Linked DNA regions of Homo sapiens: region 1 is linked to region 2. The links are contacts of gene promoters, found by promoter capture Hi-C in human tissues and cell types (Jung and others, 2019). All regions are on one chromosome and are shown on one strand. The core of a region is centred on a gene start or on the middle of the fragment in contact, and the rest is flanking DNA. Distances in the headings are between cores, read along the strand shown.

The links. The method cuts DNA at HindIII sites, captures the fragments that hold promoters and counts their contacts. A contact is called where the count stands out against the background at its distance.
Region 1: a contact is called between the fragment with the promoter of CRABP1 here and a fragment that was not itself captured in region 2, in 5 of the 25 tissues and cell types used here (adrenal gland, dorsolateral prefrontal cortex, mesenchymal stem cells and 2 more).

The regions. Positions count from the first base shown.
Region 1 is chr15:78,338,459-78,341,629 of GRCh38, reverse strand. CRABP1 (cellular retinoic acid binding protein 1) reads right to left here and starts at 1,277. Exons shown (of 4, transcript NM_004378.3): 1 at 1,132-1,277; 2 at 409-587. The coding sequence starts at 1,201. RefSeq lists an enhancer at 1,099-1,727. The HindIII fragment of the contact is 13,960 bases long and covers 1-3,171 here.
Region 2 is chr15:78,459,058-78,462,280 of GRCh38, reverse strand. The region is part of intron 2 of IREB2 (iron responsive element binding protein 2); the gene reads right to left. Among named protein-coding and RNA genes, the nearest start is that of IREB2, 22 kb to the right of the region's middle. The HindIII fragment of the contact is 5,727 bases long and covers 1-3,223 here.

The DNA of each region.
Region 1 (3,171 bases), core at 28-2,527, 120 kb after region 2:
GGGATACGGCGGGAAAGGAATGCAAGAGCTGCGGCTTCACCTGCGACAGAGAACCTGGCGGCTCCTGCAACCTCCTCCTCCTCCTGCGCCGCCTGCGCTTGGCGCTGCAAACCGCTGCAAAAGCCACTGCTGGGAACGCGGCGCAACCCAGAGCCCGCTCTTTAAGCGCGGCTGTTAGCACCCCGGGAGGCAGCGTAGGGATGGGGTTGAGATGGAATGAAGGTAATACTTTGTCTTGAGCCAGGGGCAACTAGGATGCACAAACCCCCTCTGCAAACAGCCAGTGTACACACCCTGCAAGGAAGGCGCGCCACAGGCTGCAAAGGGAGACACAGGTTCCTCCAGCAGCAGTGGGCCATGGGCACCGAGCGGGGACACGGGGACGCTGTAGTGGCTCTGGGGCCTCACCCTGCACTTGCGTCCGTCCACGGTCTCCTCCTCAAAGCCTTCTCCGACCTTGAAGTTGATCTCAGTGGTGCGCACCGTGGTGGATGTCTTGATGTAGAACTGATCCCCGTCCTGGCGGATCTCCACGTGCGGCTTGGACGCAGCCGCTACGGCCACTTTCCTCAGCATGGCGTTCACACCTGCGCAGGGTGCACCACAGGCTTGGGTCACGGGGCCTCGCCGCCAGTCTCGGGACCGGTCGGGCACTGGTCATACCCTAACTTTAGAAAGGGGCCTTAAAATTGATCCACTCGTTTCCCTGCCCTCGCCCTTGTTTTCGAGATGAGAGACTGAGGCACAGAGAGGGTAAGTGACTTTCCTCGAGTTGCACAGTGAATTCGTGGCAGAGCCTGGTCCCAAATTTGAGTCTCCAAATTTAAGTCCCTGATCCTCCTTGCTCTCCAGTAATCTCTCCTCGCTATGATCTAGCACGAGATAAAGTCCGCACCATCGAGGAGGGCGCCAAACATTCAGCAAACGTTCGCTGAACGCGTGGGTTCCGGGATCTCTACCAGCTTCTCCGAGACCCGGTGCGCCTGGGAGACAAGGCGATCTATTGCCCCGGGGACTCCCTCCTGCCTGGGCTCCCCAACTTCCACCCCCTCCAGGACCGGGGCACTTCCGGGACCAGGGCACCTCCGGGCCGCATCTCCCCGTCGGGGCGCGCCCTCTGCACCAGCTTACCCAGTGCCTTGAGCAGCTCGTCGAAATTCTCGCTGCTGCGCATCTTCCAGGTGCCGGCGAAGTTGGGCATGGTGGCGGTGGCGGCGGCGGCAGGTACGGACAGCGGCGGCGCAGCGGGCACACTCTGAGCTCGCAAGGCGGAGACTGGCGCTTTGCGCCCAGCGCTGCGCGCCTTGAGTCACTAGGAGAGCGCCCCCAACCCCGCCGGGCTTCTGGCCCCGCCCCGCCGGCCCTGCCCCCGCTCCCCCGCAGCCCCTACTCGGTATGCGCTCAACTCCCAGCCCAGTTGTGCCTCAGCCTCCAGAGGTGCGGGCACCCGCTCTCCAACTGGGGAGCCTCCACCTCCCTCAGGACACCCACATCCCGCTTTAAAATGGGTGGTGGGAGAGGGTTAGCTGAAACAAGATGGGCTTGGAGGGGATAACTGTTGAAGCTGGGCGGTGTGGACTTGGGTTATGATTCTACTTTTCTCTCTACTTTTGAATATGTTTGAAAATATCCATAACATAAACTTAAAGTGGATAGCGAGCGGGGCCATCAGGGGATGGGACCCACTCTTTTTTCACCTCCGGTCGTACCTACTGGGTGTGCCCAGATGGTGTCCCTTCCCTCCCAGTCCGGGATCCTATTCTGAAACCCTCTCCCCGCATCCCCACGCCCCCCACAGGACCCATGGGGAGTGAGTGGCAGGAAACCGCAACCCCCATCAACACCAGCTTGGGCACTGAGGCGCGAATCCACGAGCTGCGGGTCCTCCGCGTTCCGAGTGCAGGAGGGGGCCAGACCTTTGTCAGGGCTCAGGACAAACTGTGGGTCGAGAGGCATGGACTGAATCAGCTCCAGAATCTGGGCTAGGTGCGGCCTGTTTTGCAAAAGCGTGAGGCTTTGCACTCTTCGGGCAGGCTGTGAGGGCCAAGGGGAGGAAGTCTTCTCCCTTTGCTCCCAAATAACCTAAACATCACGACCTAAAGTCCCCTCGGTGTTTCCACTAAGGGAGTACAAACACTTCACTATTACCCTTGTAGCTCTTCTCTGTACATTTTCCTTCCAGCTTTTTCCCACTATTTTACCATCTGCACACCTCAGCCAAACTGTACAATTCAGGATTCTAGAACGTGCCATGCATTTTATTATCTCTAAGTTTTTGCCCATGCCATGGCTTCTTCCTTGAATGCCCCTTTCCTCATCGGGTTAATCAAATCTTGCCCATTCACGAAAGCCCATCTTTATGCTCTCTCTTTTGTGAAATTCAGTTTCCTAATAAACTGTGATTATTTTTCTCTGAATTGACAGGATTCTTGTCCGGTCCTGCTCTTGTTCAAGTCTTCGCTCTGCTATAAACTGAACTCCTGGAGGGCAGTGATCGTTTATCCACTTGTCCTCCCTTCCTAAGGCTTAGCCAGGTGGGGCTCGATAACTGTGCATTGATTTGAGGAGGATGTGAGTGGTGGCCTGGGGTGAAGATTCCCCCAGGACCTTGGGGAATCTGTGCTGAGTGCCTACTGAACAGGGCCCTGGAAACTTCTGGAGGTGGCTGGGGCTGGGTTGCTGCCAGGAGGCTCCGAGGATCTGTCTAAGAAAGCAGCTGAGGACAGGAGAGGGGAGTGGGGCCATCACCAGCTGGAAAGGGGCATGGGCAGGGCCGGCATTCTGGACGTGCCGTCTGTGCAGTCACACAGGGCCATGCACTTAGAAGGGCCTGATAGTTAGATTGGAAAATGGAAAAGCAGGAATGCTCTGCTATTGCCAGCTTGAACGTCAGAATACTTTTTGTTTGTTTGTTTGTTTTGAGACAGAGTCTCGCTCTGTTGCCCGAGCTGGAGTGCAGTGGCGCAATCTTGGCTCACTGCAACCTCTGCCTCCTGGGTTTAAATGATTCTCCTGGCTCAGCCTCCCAAGTAGCTGGGACTACAGGTGTGTGCTACTATGCCCAGCTAATTTTTTGTATTTTTAGTAGAGACAGGGTTTCACTGTGTTAGCCAGGATAGTCTCGATCTCCTGACCTCGTGATCCGCCCTCCTCGGCCTCCCAAAGTGCTGG
Region 2 (3,223 bases), core at 98-2,597:
TATGGGGTTAGTTGAATAAATCACTGTAATCCACACAATGGATTACCATGCAGCTGTTTAAAGGAGTGAAGAGTTACATGCTGATAAACAGTGAGCTCCAGAATATATATCATTAAGAGAAAAAGCAGGGCAGAACAGTGTTTATAGTATGCTAACTTTCCTGTAAGAAAGAGAGTTTAAAAACATATCCATAATATATTATTTTAAAATAAACATAAGATCATCAAATGTGTATTATGAGAAATATAATTTTAAAAATATATTAGCATGCATATTTTAACAAAAAGAAACAACGAAAGGATAAACAAAAAAACTAAGCATATATCTCACACGGTATTTCCACTGTACTTCCTTATTGGGAGTACCTTTTTGGTACAAAAAGGTATCACAAAGAAAGAAAACTATATTCAGTCATTAGTGCTGCTATTCAGAGATTGTGACTGGTGTAACAAGCAGCAAGCAAAAAAGTACTTTTTGTTACTATGGTTTCAAGAGCACAGAAGTATAAAATCAGAGTAGCTAATGAGAGCTAAAGTAACACTAAGTATTTTTTTGTTATTTCACAGGAGCGTTTGCATTTCCTGCTCACTGGGTGAGGTGGAGGGGGGCGAGGAGGAGGAAGTATGCAGAGAGAAGACTTCTGTGCCTGTGAGTTACATTAGTTCAGATTGTCTAACCATTGTTCTATATATGTAATTTAGTTAATACTGTTGTGTGTAAAGGATAAACAACTCCTAAGGCTCAAAGTATGTTAAAAGTAGAGGCAGTAAAATAATCCGTTTTTAAACATCCTTTTTTTTAGGAAGGCCTGTCTTCTGGGAGTGGTATTTGTTAACCTACTTCTAAGAGCTAGATGCAGTAATGTACTTAGTCACTGAAATGATAGAAGAGGGAAAAGGGGTGAAGGGTAAGGCTCTTTACTAGTGTCTCCATATCCAGAGGACAGGTTTTAGATTTTAACCATAGGTCTCTATGTGCATTTTTGGTAACTCATCTGTTTACTGTGAACAAAGTTCAATCTTTATTTTGCAACATCTAAGCTTTATAGATGTCCTGAGGTGACAATGTATGATAAAAAGCAGAGATAGTGAGTTAGCCAATTTGTAAATATCTTGGTATAATTGATGGAAAAGACGCATCTTGAACATGGAACTGTTAAACCACCTAGGTAGGGTGTATCAGGACTCATTCAATAGGTTGGCAGCTGAACGGCAGAAGGTAGCTTTGGGGTTCTGAACTAATAAATGTTCATGATATGTGAAAAAGCATGATACATACTGTATGATCTCAATCACATAAAAATGGATGTTATGTATATACACACACAAGACCTAGAAGGGCATGTCAAACTGCTTATGATTGTGGATGACTCTGTTCCTCATTTCTTGTGTTTTTCAGTTTCCAATAGCGCACGTTAATTTTTTTTAAAATGAAGCTTATTTTTAAAATCTGGAAAAAAAAATCACAGTAGCCAAGTTAAGTCCTTACATTTCAATTATAAACATGGATACGAACTCATGATTTATTTTTCTCTTCCTAAAAATTAGGTATTTTCTAGCTCTGTCACTGAAAATGCCTAGAATAACAACCCAACAGTAACAAACCCTTAACAACTGTTTGTTGTTTCTAAAAACTATTTCCTAAACACACACAACAGAACAGTTTTTCAGAGAAATGACTGATTCTAATCTGGAGAAGGATTTGTACAAAATGAGCCTGGATATCTTGTGTCCGAAACCAAAGAAGTTATCAAAGACTAATGGGGACACTAACGGGTCAATCTGAGCATCAAAATGAGTAATAACTATAATTCACCAAAATACATCAAATATATAAGTAGCCCTTAGTTCATAATGACTCTTAAAAAACCTTTCATTGATCACCAATGAGAGTTGCTAGGGCATCAACTCATTACTCTGAAAACTGACAAATAAAGGGGGAAAATCAATAGTTAATATTATCTTTCCTCCTTTCAGGTAACCAAATAGACAAAAGTACTTTGTTATAGAAGAATTACAGCTAGTAAATGTGGAAGAAACGATGTAATCTGAAAGATCACCAATGTGCAACACCTAATGAAATAATGGATCTAGATAATGGTCACAAATGGGTGCTAAAATCATTAGGATTTATGTGGATGGCGCGCTTACAAGCTGGTAACACTCATACCCACTTAGCATCACCAAAAGTAAGATATTAGAGATATTATTTGCCTCCTGATGAAACAAAAAACTACATGTTCCAACTAGGAAGTGTTCTCGCAAAAATAAGAACACTTACTATCTTGCAAAAATAAACCTGAATCTAATTAAACCTCTAGCTCTAACTTCCAGTTAACTGAAAACATGGGGGTTAGTAGGAAAGTAAAATGAAACCCCAAAGAAGCTATCAGCCAAATCTAGAATGTGGGACATTCTACAGGATAAAGAACCTAGGTTTTTCAACATAAAAATGGCACGAAAAAAGAGGAGAGGAAGACTATTACAGATTACAAGAAACTTAAAAGACGTAACAACCAAATACTGTGTTGGCCCTATTTGGATACTGTTTCAACAAACCAAATGTAAAAATGTATTTTTGAGATAACCAGAAAAATCTGAATACGAACTCAGTTTTAGATTTTATTAAGTGGCCAGGCACGGTGGCTCACCGCCTGTAATCGCAAAATTTTGGGAGGCCGACGTGGGTGGATCACTCGAGGTCAAGAGTTACAGACCAGCCTGACCAACATGGCGAAACCCCGTCTCTACTAAAAATACAAAAATTAGCCTGGCATGGTGGCATGCACCTGTAATCCAAGCTATTCAGGAGGCTGAGGCTCAAGAATTGCTTGAACCCAGGAGGCAGATTCTACACCGAGCGGAGACCTTGCCACTGCACTCCAGCCTGGGCAACAGAGCGAGACTCTGTCTCAAAAAACAAAAAACAAAAAAACCAAAACAAACAAACAAAAAACCCAATTATATTAAGGGATTACTTAATTTTGTTAGGTATAACAATGGCACTGTGATTTTTTAAAAGTCCTTTTATATAACAGCTATGCATATGGAAGAATATTTACAGGTTAAAATATGGTAAAATATATGAAACAAAAGATTGGCAAAATGCTGATAAATGGCTGACAATTACATGGTGGGTTACAAAAGTATTCTCACGCTACTTTTTTTTCCCGTTAAGAATATACTTATTGGCCAGGTATGGTGGCACATACCTGTAATCCCCG